2 separate regions of the Homo sapiens genome follow, and region 2 is linked to region 1. The links are contacts of gene promoters, found by promoter capture Hi-C in human tissues and cell types (Jung and others, 2019). All regions are on one chromosome and are shown on one strand. Each heading gives the region's core, a stretch centred on a gene start or on the middle of the fragment in contact. The rest is flanking DNA. Distances are from core to core; before and after follow the strand shown.

Region 1 (6,075 bases), core at 1,032-3,531:
AATTTGCAAACCACTGGCACAGAATTCAACAAAAGATGAATTTCTGGTCAAGATTTCTCAAAGAACTAGCAGCTCTCATATTATTGTGCCACCTATAACACAGTCATTTTTTGCAAGATAAAAATATGCTTTCAAAAAGCATTTGAAGGATTTTCTAAATAAAGAACTGTTATTTTGAAATGCACAAGATCAAGGATTCCAAAAATGCCACATTCTCTAGTGGGTGGTACATAGTGAATCACTTATTTTTCTAACAAATGAATTGTGGAAGTTCAAATATTCCTTATAAAAATATTAAAATTACATCATGGGTAACTGGCAAAGCAAAAACGAAAAAACTGCTCAAAAACTCCTAAAAATTTAAACCATAATTCATTCATAAAATAACTAAAGCAAAATGGAAAAGGCTGAAAATGCACCAAAATGACTAAATGACAAGTACTGCACTGTAGTATTTTAAAAACCTCTCTGAAACCAGTTCTCCATCAAATTTTGTATCAACCTCACCTAAAAGGATTTAATTGAAATAAACATCAATGATTTTCACTGTCAAGTCAACTTTAACATCAGTAATAAATACCAAGTACTACTGACTGGGTCCCTAAGGATATTATTTACTTTATTACTCATTGTTTACTCAAACTGTAGATCTGTAAACAGATATCAACTTTTTTTTTTCAAGACAAGTTAATATAGATACATAGTGAAATAATTAGGCCAGAGTCACTATAGAGTCCAGAATGCCTGTTCCAGAATCAAAGATCTTGATCAGAAAAAGATACATACATATATATTAGAGAGAGAAGGAGAGAGAAACTACAAAAGGATAGAGTGCCGTACTAGGAGATTAAGAATATGGATTTCTCACAGTAACAGTGTGTTTACTAAATGCATTTCATATTGGAAAAAGCATATTAGACTTGTAAGAATTCTCTCTGGACCTCCCTTGCCTTTTTGGGAAGGAAAGCGTGTTTGTATTTAGATGGGAACCAAGAAGGATCAGGCTACACACATCGAATATAAAGTTCATTTACACCAAATGACAAATATTAATTTTTGAAACATATAGTCATATTCTTGAGAAAAAGTTCTAGAAACTGAAGTCAGGCAATGTGAAAGAAAAGGATAAAAATCCATACTATTTTTGAGCTCTGAATTCAGAAAGCATCACTTCTCAGACGGGTGACTTCGACATGGAGGTGACTAATTTAGGATCGTCGGCCGGTGGCAGCTCATGCCCCCAGACAAAATTCTGAATGGGTAGAGGTCATTTTATAGCAAGAAGAATGGGCAGAAGGGAGTGAAAACGAATAAATTCGTGCTGAAGATGTAAGAATTATAAACAATTGAAAGTGTTCCAGCAGCTTTATATATATGCCAGAGGCAAGAACTGAATTAGCTGGCACCGCTAAATAGGACAGTGTCAGAATATAAAAGGTACACTACCTTTAATAAGGGGCATAGGGATCGATTTCAATAACAATCGTAAATCCACATTTTGTAACGCCGAGACAAATAACTGAAGGAATAATTTCAAAAGCTAACACAGAAGCCTTCTGCTCCTGCTGTGTAATCACTACCTTCTTATTATTAGCAAGAAAACGTTCTTTTCTTAGCCGGGTCTCAAGGTAGCAGCTAGTTTGACAAGGAAAGACCTTTGGGAAGGGTAGCAGCCTAAGCCAATTCATAAGTGTGGGGCTGGCTAAGTAGATCGACGTGGCTATTTCTGAGCTATCGTCCCAGGCAAAAGGTTTCTTATTTGGGTGTCCAGCCCGGCGGAGACCGAGCCCGCGGGCCACCCTAGCGCTCGCTCTGGCTACGCCGCCTCAGCCCCTCCTCAAGCGCACCTGGACATTTAACCAACAGCTAAGTCCGGCGGCCGAATGACTGAGCCGGCGGCAATATTCAAACAACCGTTTTGGGATAGAGAAGGAAAAACTCTCTCCGGGTCCCTCAGAACCACCCCGAGGCGGGACAAGCCACCGCCACCCCGGGCAACTGGAACCCGCCGGGCAGAAGACGGGCGTCAATAGAATGGCCTCCCCAGCCGTCCCCACGCCCCAATCCGAGGCCCGGGGAGGGCGGCGGGGCTAGGCCTGTCTCCCCGCGGAAGCCTGGCTCGGCAGCGGAGGGCCCTCTGGGGTTTCTCTTCCCAGACCCAGAGTCCTGGAGCAGCTAGCAAGGGAAACACGAAAGGACAGCGCCGCGGAGCTCACCCCAGGTTCAAGGCATCGCGCACCCTGCGGCAGCGGCTGCGCTGCCTCAGCCCACAGCTCAGACCTGCGGGTGGCCGCGACTCAGGCCGGGACCCGGTCGCACCTCTGTGACGCAAAGCCCCGCCCCCCGCGCGTTGCCGGGAGACGGCGCCCAACCTTCCTCTGCAGCGCCCCTACCGACCCGCGCTCCGCAGCTCCTGAGGGCTTTCGAGCCCAGATGGTCATCTGAGACGAGAGGTGGCGGCGAAGGAGAGTCTCGCCTGTCACGCTCCCGGAGCAGGGGCTTCATGAGGTGGCCATGGAAACAGCCTGGCAGACTCCCATCTCTCCTGGTGCCATCTCCGGAGCGGAAAGTGGAGCGCCCCGCTGGCGACCAAGGCCGCACTGAGAGCCCTGGTTTGGTCAACAGTTGGGCTCCAAGGTACCACTTCCCAGACCTCCAGCCTCCCCACTGATGATAGATACACAAAGGTCATCTTGTTTCTTTATGAGGCAATGGATTGTGTTCACCTAGCCGAGTTGTTAAGCATAAGAGAATGTATGAAAAGTAATTACAAGGTTCAAAATCCTGAGCTTTGATAAATGATAGATATGATGATGAGCACATGTTAGTGATATTACTGCTCTGCGGGACGTCTGAATCAGTAATTGCTGTCTTTTAAGCATCTGTTGTGTGCCAAATACTGCACTAGGCACTTTACGGGCATTGCTCTTGTTTAAGTCGTCTGGTCAAAGTTGCCTAGACAATAAACAGCAGAGCAAGGATTTTAACCCAGGTACAGCTGACACTGCTGCCTCTATGCTTAGCAGTTAAACTGGTTTTTATGTTTCTTGTTTGTACACCCCTCCTTCACCAGTCACTTGTAGATTCACCTTGTGAAGAGCTAATTCTTCCCTCTAATAATAATACTCTTTGACCATTTACTATATGTCAAACCGTATTTTAAGGACTTTAAAGGTATTAATTCGTTTAATCTTCACAGCAATCCTGTGAGTAGGTATTATTAATACCTTCACTAAGACACAGGCTTAGAAAAGTCGATTAACTTTTCCAAGGTCAAACAACCATTAAGGAGCAGAGCCAGATTCAAACCCAAGCAGACAGAACCCTGAACCTGTGTTTTTAATTCCTGTTTTAAACTGCCTCGGTAGTACGGTAAGACTTCATTAGCGCTAGGTCCATGCCTGTTTGTGCACCATTATTTCCCTGACAGCCAGCATGGTACTTGTTCAATATTTGAACATTTGATGAATATTTGAACACTGGAAAAGGAAAAAGCTTAAAAATGAAGTATAAATAATGATTTAATAAATTCCAAAAGATATCAAATTCAACAAGATTCCATAGTTCAGCCTAATCCGGGCCTGGGAGTTAGAAATATTACTCTGTAAAAATTGCCTTCAATTAAACATTGTATTGGAAGTTCTGGTCAATGAAATAAAAAAAGACAAATATATAAAAGGCATCCAAGTTGGAAAGGAAGTTGTAGCACTGCATTTATTTGCATAAGAAAATTGTGGAATACTACAAAAAAGCTGCTAGAACTCATAAGTGAGTTTACAAAAGTTGCAAGATACAAAATCAAATATACAAAAATCAGTTGTATTTCTATATACTAGCAATGAACAATTAGAAATGGAAAATTTTTAAATATCTCTTATCAGCAAAAAAAAAAAAAAAAAAAAAAGCAGCAAATTTGGGACAAATTTGACCAAAGATGAGAAAGACATGTATACTGAAAACTATAAAATATTATGGAATAGCAAAGACATGGAATCAACCCAGGTGCTTATCAATAGTGGATTGGATAAAGAAAGTGTGGTACATATACGCCATGGAATACTATACAACCACAAAAAGGACTAGATCATATCTTTTGCAGCAACATGAATACAGCTGGAGGCCATTGTCCTAAGCAAAATAATGCAGAAACAGGAAACCAAATACCGCATGTTCTCACTTATAAGTAGGAGCTAAACGTTGAGTACACAGACACAAAGTTGGGAACAATAAACACTGGGGATTCCAAAAGGGTAGAAAAAACTACTATTGGGTACTATGTTCACCACTTGGGTGACCTGGATCATTAGAAGCCTAAACCTCAGCATTGTTCGATATACCCATGTAACAAAACTACACGTGTACCCCCTGAATCTAAAATAAAATAAAAAACATTGTTAAGAGAAATTAAAGAAGACCTAAATAAATAGAGATACATTATGTTCATGAATCAGAAGACTGAGCATTTTTAAGATATCACTTCTGCCTAAATTGACCTACAGATTTAAGGAAATTCCAATAAAAATTCTAGCAGATTTCTTTTTGATGGAAATGACCAAACTAATTCTAAAATTTATATGGAGATGCAAAGGACCTAGGATAGTCAAGACTTTCATCAAAAAAAACAAAGTTTTGGGACTTACACTACCTGATCTCAAGACATTATAATAAGAGCTACTCAACACAGTATAGTATAGGTATGAAAATAGATAGAGTAATGGAACAGTATATAGAACCCAGAGATGTATCTATACATATGTCATCAATTGATTTTCGACAAATATGCCAAGGCAATTCAGTGGGGGAAAAGATAATCTTTTCAACAAATAAACCTGAAAAAATTGAATAGCATATGCCAAAAAACTCTTAATATCTTGCTCCTTTCCTCATACTGTCACAGGATCCTTGGAGTGTTGCTCTGCCAGCCAGAAACCTCTGTGGCCGGTGGCTCCTTTGCCCGAGTTTTGCTCAGGCCCACTGGGCTCATTCTGCCCATTTGGCCTTGCAGGCTGCACTCGGCTCATGCCACTGGCCCAGATCCCATGCCTGCCAAGGACGAGCCAGGCGCAAAGTGGTGAGGGGTGCGTGAGCAAGTGAGCGCGAGGTCTGGCCGCTGTGCACAGCTAGGCACGCCAGCTGTGGCGGGGCGGGTGGCTCCAGGTGCTGGCATGGGCGCTGGCTCCTGCAAAGCTGTGGCTGGACCAGGAGTACCACAAGCGGCTTCCACTGCTGGCACTAGGGAATGTGGTGGCACCTGGAAGCTTTGAGATGCCAGGAAATGCAGAGCCCCCAAGAGGGTGTTACAGTCCTGGCTCAGGGAGCTCTTAGGTCTGGGCTTCTCGAAGTGTCAAAGCTCTTCTCTCCTTCTCTCTTCTGTCCTTCTCATCGCTTGCAACATGGGGAGTGAGGGGGTGTTTCAGCCCTGTTTGTGTTACAGTTCTTTCAGTCCTGCCATTTGGCAGGTCCCAAGTTGTTGTCCCACATCCAGGAATAATGAGGTATGCAGACAATTGGAGGGTGAGTAGGGTGAAGAGGTGCTTTATTGAGTGACAGTATAGCTCTCAGGAGACTCTAAGTGGGTAGCTCCTTTCTGCAGGCAGGTTGTCCGGTTGTCTGCCCAGCTCTCAGCTGAGAGGAGACCCACAGTGGGTGGCTCCTTTCTGCAGGCAGGTCGTCAGGATGTCTGCTGAGCCCTCAGCAGAGAGGAGATCTGGAGTGGGTAGCTCCTACACGCAGGCAGGTTGTCCCCATGTTTCTTGAGTCTGGCTGAGCCTAGGATATTTATGGGCTCAAGAGGGAGGAAGTGCATGCTGATTGGTCCATGGGCAGTAGAAAAAGTGCCATAAGTTCTCACTCCAGTCTGAGGACCTGGCAGCCCAGCCCCCAGGCTTCAGACTCTCAGTTGCCTAAAGGTAGGGTTTCACTGAGGACCCACCCCTTTTTGCCCAGGAGCCAGTCTGCCTCATGCCACTGTCCATGGCACCAAGGCTGTTTGTGCCAGCGGGAGCCTGCAGGCCCACACTGAGCTGCCCTCAGCGCCCCCTCAGCTTCCCCTCCCATGCTCATCAGTGTCCAAAG
Region 2 (6,067 bases), core at 625-3,124, 860 kb before region 1:
CAGCCAGGCCATTGGTAAGTTGAAAATATAAAGGAAGCAAATTATGAGACAGGGTTTTTATTTGTGGAACACAATATACAAATGTAGTTAATTCTTTTGTGAACTTGGCATGTATAGTATTCCCTTCCTAATCTTTTGTGTTGTGTTTCTGCTAACCTCTATGGTAAAAGGTTCTATTGAGGAACAAAAACAATCAATTTTTAAAATGGGGTTGGGGATCAGAGTCTTGAGTGAGCCTATTAAAGTGCTGGGATTACAGGCATGAGCCACTGCACCCAGCCTAAAGTCTTTGTAAATATTTTTTATGTAGATATCACCAAAATAAAATAGTAAGGGCAGCTCTCTAAATAAAGAGAAAATTACACATTTAGATATCTTAAAATAGGATAATGAATGTTGGATTATTTCTAGTTTCTATTCCTTACTTGCTAGAAACTTTTCAGTGAGATAACTTGGACATTTTTATGTTTTTTTTTTTTTTTGGGAAATACATGTACTTTTATCGAAAATAACACGTAAACTCTGAGGTGCTTTTTTTTTTTTTTTTTTTTTGGTATTTGACCTTCCATCTTAATAGTACATTTCTGATCTTAGGACTCAGAGTTCTTAACCTCTCTGATCTCCATTTTGTATTTCCTTTGGGGTCTCATCACAGTCCCAGAGGTACATAGTAACAAAGCTAGAGACAGAAGAGGCTTTAGGCGACCTTCTCCCAGGTACTCAGCATGCCATCACTCAATAGGTATTTCTCATTCCTTCCCACCGTGAGGGTTATAGAACCTTAGTCCCATCAGTGGTGATTATTAGCACATTAGCACTCTCACTCGCTTCCTTAGTCCCTCTTAGGCATGTCCTTGTTCCCCTCCCACAACACAAGCCTAAGGTAGATCCTTGCCTCAGCTTCCTTTTTCTTCCCCAAGACTGCGTTTCATGAAACTATTTTTCCTGCTCTACTTTCTGCTTCATTTCCTTCTTCTCATCCTACCTTCGTGTTCCTTTTCTTTAAACTCAAAATCTGTGTCTACTGGAAACTGCAGTTTTCAGCAGTTGAGGGAGAGATATTTAAATGGAAATCTGTGTGTATACTTGAATTTCATATAAGGAGATCTTGCGGTTAAGGAGAGATTTCTGCAATATTAGAAACACTAATTTTTTTGATCTTAAGACTCTTCTGTTTTCTGTACCTTTTGCTTCTTTAGGAATAATTAGCTTTACAACATTTGATTTGAAGGAGGAGAATGGTGTTATGTGGGCATGGTGTATCAGCCAGAAGTGACGCTAGTTAGGATGAAAGTTGTTCTGGTCATATGGACAGTGTTGGAAGGTATTACATTCCACTCTACAGACAGCTCTGGAAGGATGGGGCATGTCAGCCTTGGCAGGCAGCACATCTCCATCAATTCTTTCAGTTCCTAGGGTGATGGATACTCAGCTAGCTGGCTGTTTTCCTGAAATTTAGCCTTCTAACTGAACCTTGTAGCTTGATGAGCAACTGACTCCAGTCTCAGTGATCGTCTTCAGTGATGATTTGAGAAACACTGTTAGGTAATAGGACAGCAGACAATTAGTAGATCAGACTACATTGGAATTCTGAGGTCCTTTACCTGGGTGACTTTGGGAAGCTTCCTTTGCTTTTTATTTTTTATATTTTTATTTATGTATTTATTTATTTTTGAGACAGAGTCTTGCTCTGTTGCCCAGGCTGGAGTGTGGTGGTGCGATCTCAGCTCACTGCAAGCTCCACCTCCCAAGTTCACACCATTCTCCTGCCTTAGCCTCCTGAGTAGCTGGGACTACAGGTGCCCGCCACCACGCCTGGCAAATTTTTTTGTATTTTCAGTAGAGACAGGGTTTCACCATGTTAGCCAGGATGGTCTTGATCTCCTGACCTTGTGATCTGCCTGCCTCAGCCTTCCAGAGTGCTGGGATTACAGGCATGAGCCACTGCACGCGGCCTGCTTTTTATATTTTAAGATTATAATAGAGCTCACAACCTTTATATGTGACAGCAGAAATTCTTTCTTATTTTCTACCAAACAATGATGTTGAAGAAAACTAATGTATAAAACATTATATGAATTTGAAGGTTTCAGGCTACTGAACACTTTTTGTTAGGCACCCTGGGAAGAAAAAAACATGCAGCCTTGTCCCTTAAGTTGAGGATTGTGTGATGTAGTCAAGAAGATAATACATGAAATGACCACAATGACGCAATATATAAACAAGTTCTAGAGTGTGTAGAAGATGACCACTCTAAGCCGTGCCATCCAGTGTTAGCCAGTAGCCACGTTTGGCTGTTGACTGCTTGAAAATTCATGAGCCTGAGTTGATATGTACTTTAAGTATAAAATATGCATTGGATTTCAAAGACTTAGTACCAAAACAAGAGTAACATATCTCGTTATTTATTTATTTATTTTGAGATGGAGTTTCGCTCTTGTCACCCAGGCTGGAATGTAATGGCATGATCTTGGCTCACTGCAACCTCCGCCTCCTGGGTTCAAGTGATTCTCCTGCCTCATCCTCCTGAATAGCTGGTATTACAGGTGCCCGCTACCACGCCTGGATAATTTTTGTGTTTTTAGTAGAGAAAGGGTTTCACCATGTTGGCCAGGCTGGTGTCGAACTCCTGACCTCAGGTGATCCACCCGCCACAGCCTCCTGAAGTGCTGGGATTGCAGGCATTTTTAAAAATACCGATTACATGTTTAAATTACAATATTTTGGATATAGTATTTAAGTTAATATTACCTATTCCCTTTTACTTTTTTTAAAATGAGGCTTTAAAAATTCTAAATTTCATATGTGGTTTGTGGTATATTTCCATGGCAAATAGAGAAAAGGATATAGACAGTTGCAGACAAAGTTTCATGAAGGAGATAGTACTTCAGCTGTTTCTTGAGAGAATGGCGAATGTGAGGGTGATCTGGCTGTGATATCTGTCACCCCATTGATCACCAGGGTTGATTTCGCTGATCTGGCTGGCTAGGTGGTTGTCCCCTTCCTCCCTCACCACTCCATGTGCGTCCCTCCCAATGCTGTGTGCTCAGTCAAAGAGAACGACCATCCTCGATAGAGGAGGACCAGTCTTCGGTCAAGGGTATATGAGTAGCTGTGCTTACCTGCTAGAACCTCCAGACAAGCTCTCAAGGTCTTGAGAGAATGGGGCAGATCTTGTCCAGTATAATTGCAGAAAGGTGACAAATATGGTGGTAGCACTGTAAATTAAGAGCAAGAGCCTCAACTTGGAGTATTTGAGCAGAAAGGAAATACTGTGAGTGGAGTAGAAGGTTTGTTTTAAAGCATAGTGGAGAATTAGGATTTAAAGAGAGATGGGGCTACATTTTAGATGTCATTGAATGTTTTTGCACAGAATATATGGCTAATATATGTTTATTGACTGACAGTCTGTCTTAGAATTAGTTCAGAATTGACCCTGTAAAGAGGGTAAGTCATTTAAAGTTTTTAGGTAGATATATGGCAGAGATACGGTTTTAAAATTATTCTGATGATGTAGGTTTAATGACTAAAGGTGAGAGGCTGGAGATTGGGGGACTTGTTAGTGGGGTGCTATGAAGTCTGGGTAAGTTGGTGAGTGTGGGTCAGTAGTGGTAGCTATGGAAATTAAAACAGATATGTACCCTCCCCTTGTAGAGCTTAAAATCTTGTGAGTGATACAGATGAGCAAACTGGCAATTCAAATACAGTGAGATACAGAAGGCAGAATGCAGAGGAAGGGAACCTATTTAGCTTGGGGTGAGGACATGAGGAGTTAGCTCAGAGAATGCTTCCTAGAGGAGGAGACATTTGTCACTAACTTGAAAAGGATGTATGAAATTCCCCTGTGAGAATACTATGATGAAAGATTCAGAAAGTAAAACCTTTAGAGGAACATGAAAAGTGTTGAGAGAGAGAGGAGTTGGGGAGTAAGGAGAGTTACCTGTACTCCATTACTTGTGTGGTAATGGGAAATCACTTCTCTTTGCTGGGCTTCAGTTTCCTCATTTGTAAAATGTAGGGTGGCAGACATGCTCTTTGAGGTTTAGCCTTCTAACTGAACCTTGTAGCTTGATGTGTTTACCATGGTTATATCCTGAGGAGTAGTTGTTCTGCAGCAACTCTTTGACAGGACCTGAGAGGGGAGAATGGGACCTTGTACTGGGAGGTGAGGGGAGGAGCCCTTGTTTCCCCAGCCTCACACTCTCTGCTTGGTTAGCCTGAAGGTGACAGAGCGGCTCACGCAGTAGAGACAGGAGTTGGCATTGGCTGGGGCTGAATTAGATCCAGAAGGTGGACAAACTGTATGAAAAAGAGATAGAAGAAGAGACCATAGTTTTGTTAAGGCAATGGTGATACCAAAGTCAGAATCAGGGTGGCAAACCTATTTTGGGGAGAAAAGTGATGAGATCTCATTTGGATCTTTTGGACGTGAGGCAGATTTAGAATAGAAATCTCTAGTATTGTTTAGTGATATAAACCAGAGCTTACTGGAGAGGTTAAGACCAGAAAGAGATCTATGAATCATTTGAATAGAGATGACTTAAGGTTGTCAGAATAAAATCACTTTCTTTTTTCTTTTTATAAATGTTTAGATTTATAAAATATAAAATTTGAAAAAATTTAAGTCTTTTGATTCATAAACACAGAATGTCTTGTCTTTATTTTTATTTTTATTTTTTTTTGAGACAGGGTCTTCGTCTGTTGCCCACGCAGGAGTGCAGTGACACAATCTGTGCGCACTGCAACCTCCGCCTCCCGGGTTCAAGTGATTCTCATGCCTCAGCCTCCCAAGTAGCTGGGATTACAGGCATGTGCCACCACGCCCAGCTAATTTTTATGTTTTTAGTAGATACAGGGTTTTTGCCATGTTGGCAGGCTGGTCTCAAACTCCTGGCCTGAAGTGATCACCTGCCTTGGCCTCCTAAAGTGCTGGGATTATAGGTGTGAGCCACTGTGCCTGGTCAAAAGCACTTTCTAAGAAGAAATTAAAGTAGAACTGAGGGTTGAAAATTGATCTTTGGGAAATGACCAGATTGGGAGAATGAGGGATGATGGATGTGACTGCATAAATTTACCTTTGAAGAACTTAGAAACTATTCTGTCTGGGCTGGGTACGCTGGCGCATGCCTGTAATTCCAGCACTTGTGAGGCTGAGGCAGGTGGATGGCTTGAGCTCAGGAGTTTGAGACCAGCCTGGACAACATGGTGAAACCTGTTTCTACAAAAAATAGAAAAATTAGCTGGGTGTGATGGCAGGTGCCTGTAGTCCCAGCTGCTGGGGGTGAGGGGTGGGGGATGGTGGCTGAGGTGGGAGAATTGCTTGAGCCCAGGAGGTCGAGCCTGTGGTGAGCCCAGATCGAGCTACTGCACTCCAGCCTGAGTAACAGAGCAAGACCCTGTCTCAAAAAAAAAGAAGAAAAAGAAAAGAAAAGAAAAGAAAATGGTATGTCAGGGACCAAAAACGTCTAAGAGGAGGGGGTGATTCAGACTGCCAACTGCCAGACCTTTGGGAGAGTGACTTGGCCAGAAGGTATCTGTCCCAGCATGGGTTCTCCAGGAAGCCAATGTTAAGACACTGTTAGGAATACAAAAGTGTTACCTGTGGGGTGGGAGAGAGGAAATGAAATTGGGAAAAGGAACTGTCAAACCATCATATGGATTTGGCAAAACCAGGAGCTCTGAAGCAAAGATTGCCCCTTATGGGACTCCCACATTGAGGAAAAGTGATCCTACCACCCCGCTCTGTCACTGGGACCCTGAAAGTAGCTGGAGGCTATCAGCTTAACACAGTCCTTGTAGCTGGGTAGCAGTTACCTACTTGAGGGGGCATCTGAGTGGTGCATCTCTGTGTCTACCTCAGAATCCATTTAGAAAAGCAATTTCAAGAGATTGATAGGGATAGAAGTCATATTTTAGGGACCATGCGGGGTCAGGTTGGTGAGAAGGTGGGGCAGCCGAGGGAAACCTCACATTTGTGATTTTTTTTCATTCTTTTATTTTTAATTTTATTTTATATATTTTTGATTTCTGTATATTTTAATGACTTCAGATTTGTGATCTTTCTTAA

The links. Contacts are between HindIII fragments. The study calls those that stand out against the background at their distance.
Region 2: a contact is called between a fragment that was not itself captured here and the fragment with the promoter of RNF141 in region 1, in 1 of the 25 tissues and cell types used here (bladder).

The regions. Positions count from the first base shown.
Region 1 is chr11:10,538,906-10,544,980 of GRCh38, forward strand. RNF141 (ring finger protein 141) reads right to left here and starts at 2,282. Exons shown (of 6, transcript NM_016422.4): 1 at 2,217-2,282. IRAG1-AS1 (IRAG1 antisense RNA 1) reads left to right here and starts at 2,331. Exons shown (of 4, transcript NR_046375.1): 1 at 2,331-2,637. RefSeq lists an enhancer at 2,358-2,467. The HindIII fragment of the contact is 8,088 bases long and covers 1-4,376 here.
Region 2 is chr11:9,678,013-9,684,079 of GRCh38, forward strand. All of the region lies in intron 1 of SWAP70 (switching B cell complex subunit SWAP70), which reads left to right. It also overlaps the pseudogene RN7SKP50. Among named protein-coding and RNA genes, the nearest start is that of SWAP70, 17 kb to the left of the region's middle. RefSeq lists an enhancer at 500-1,039. The HindIII fragment of the contact is 4,845 bases long and covers 1-4,297 here.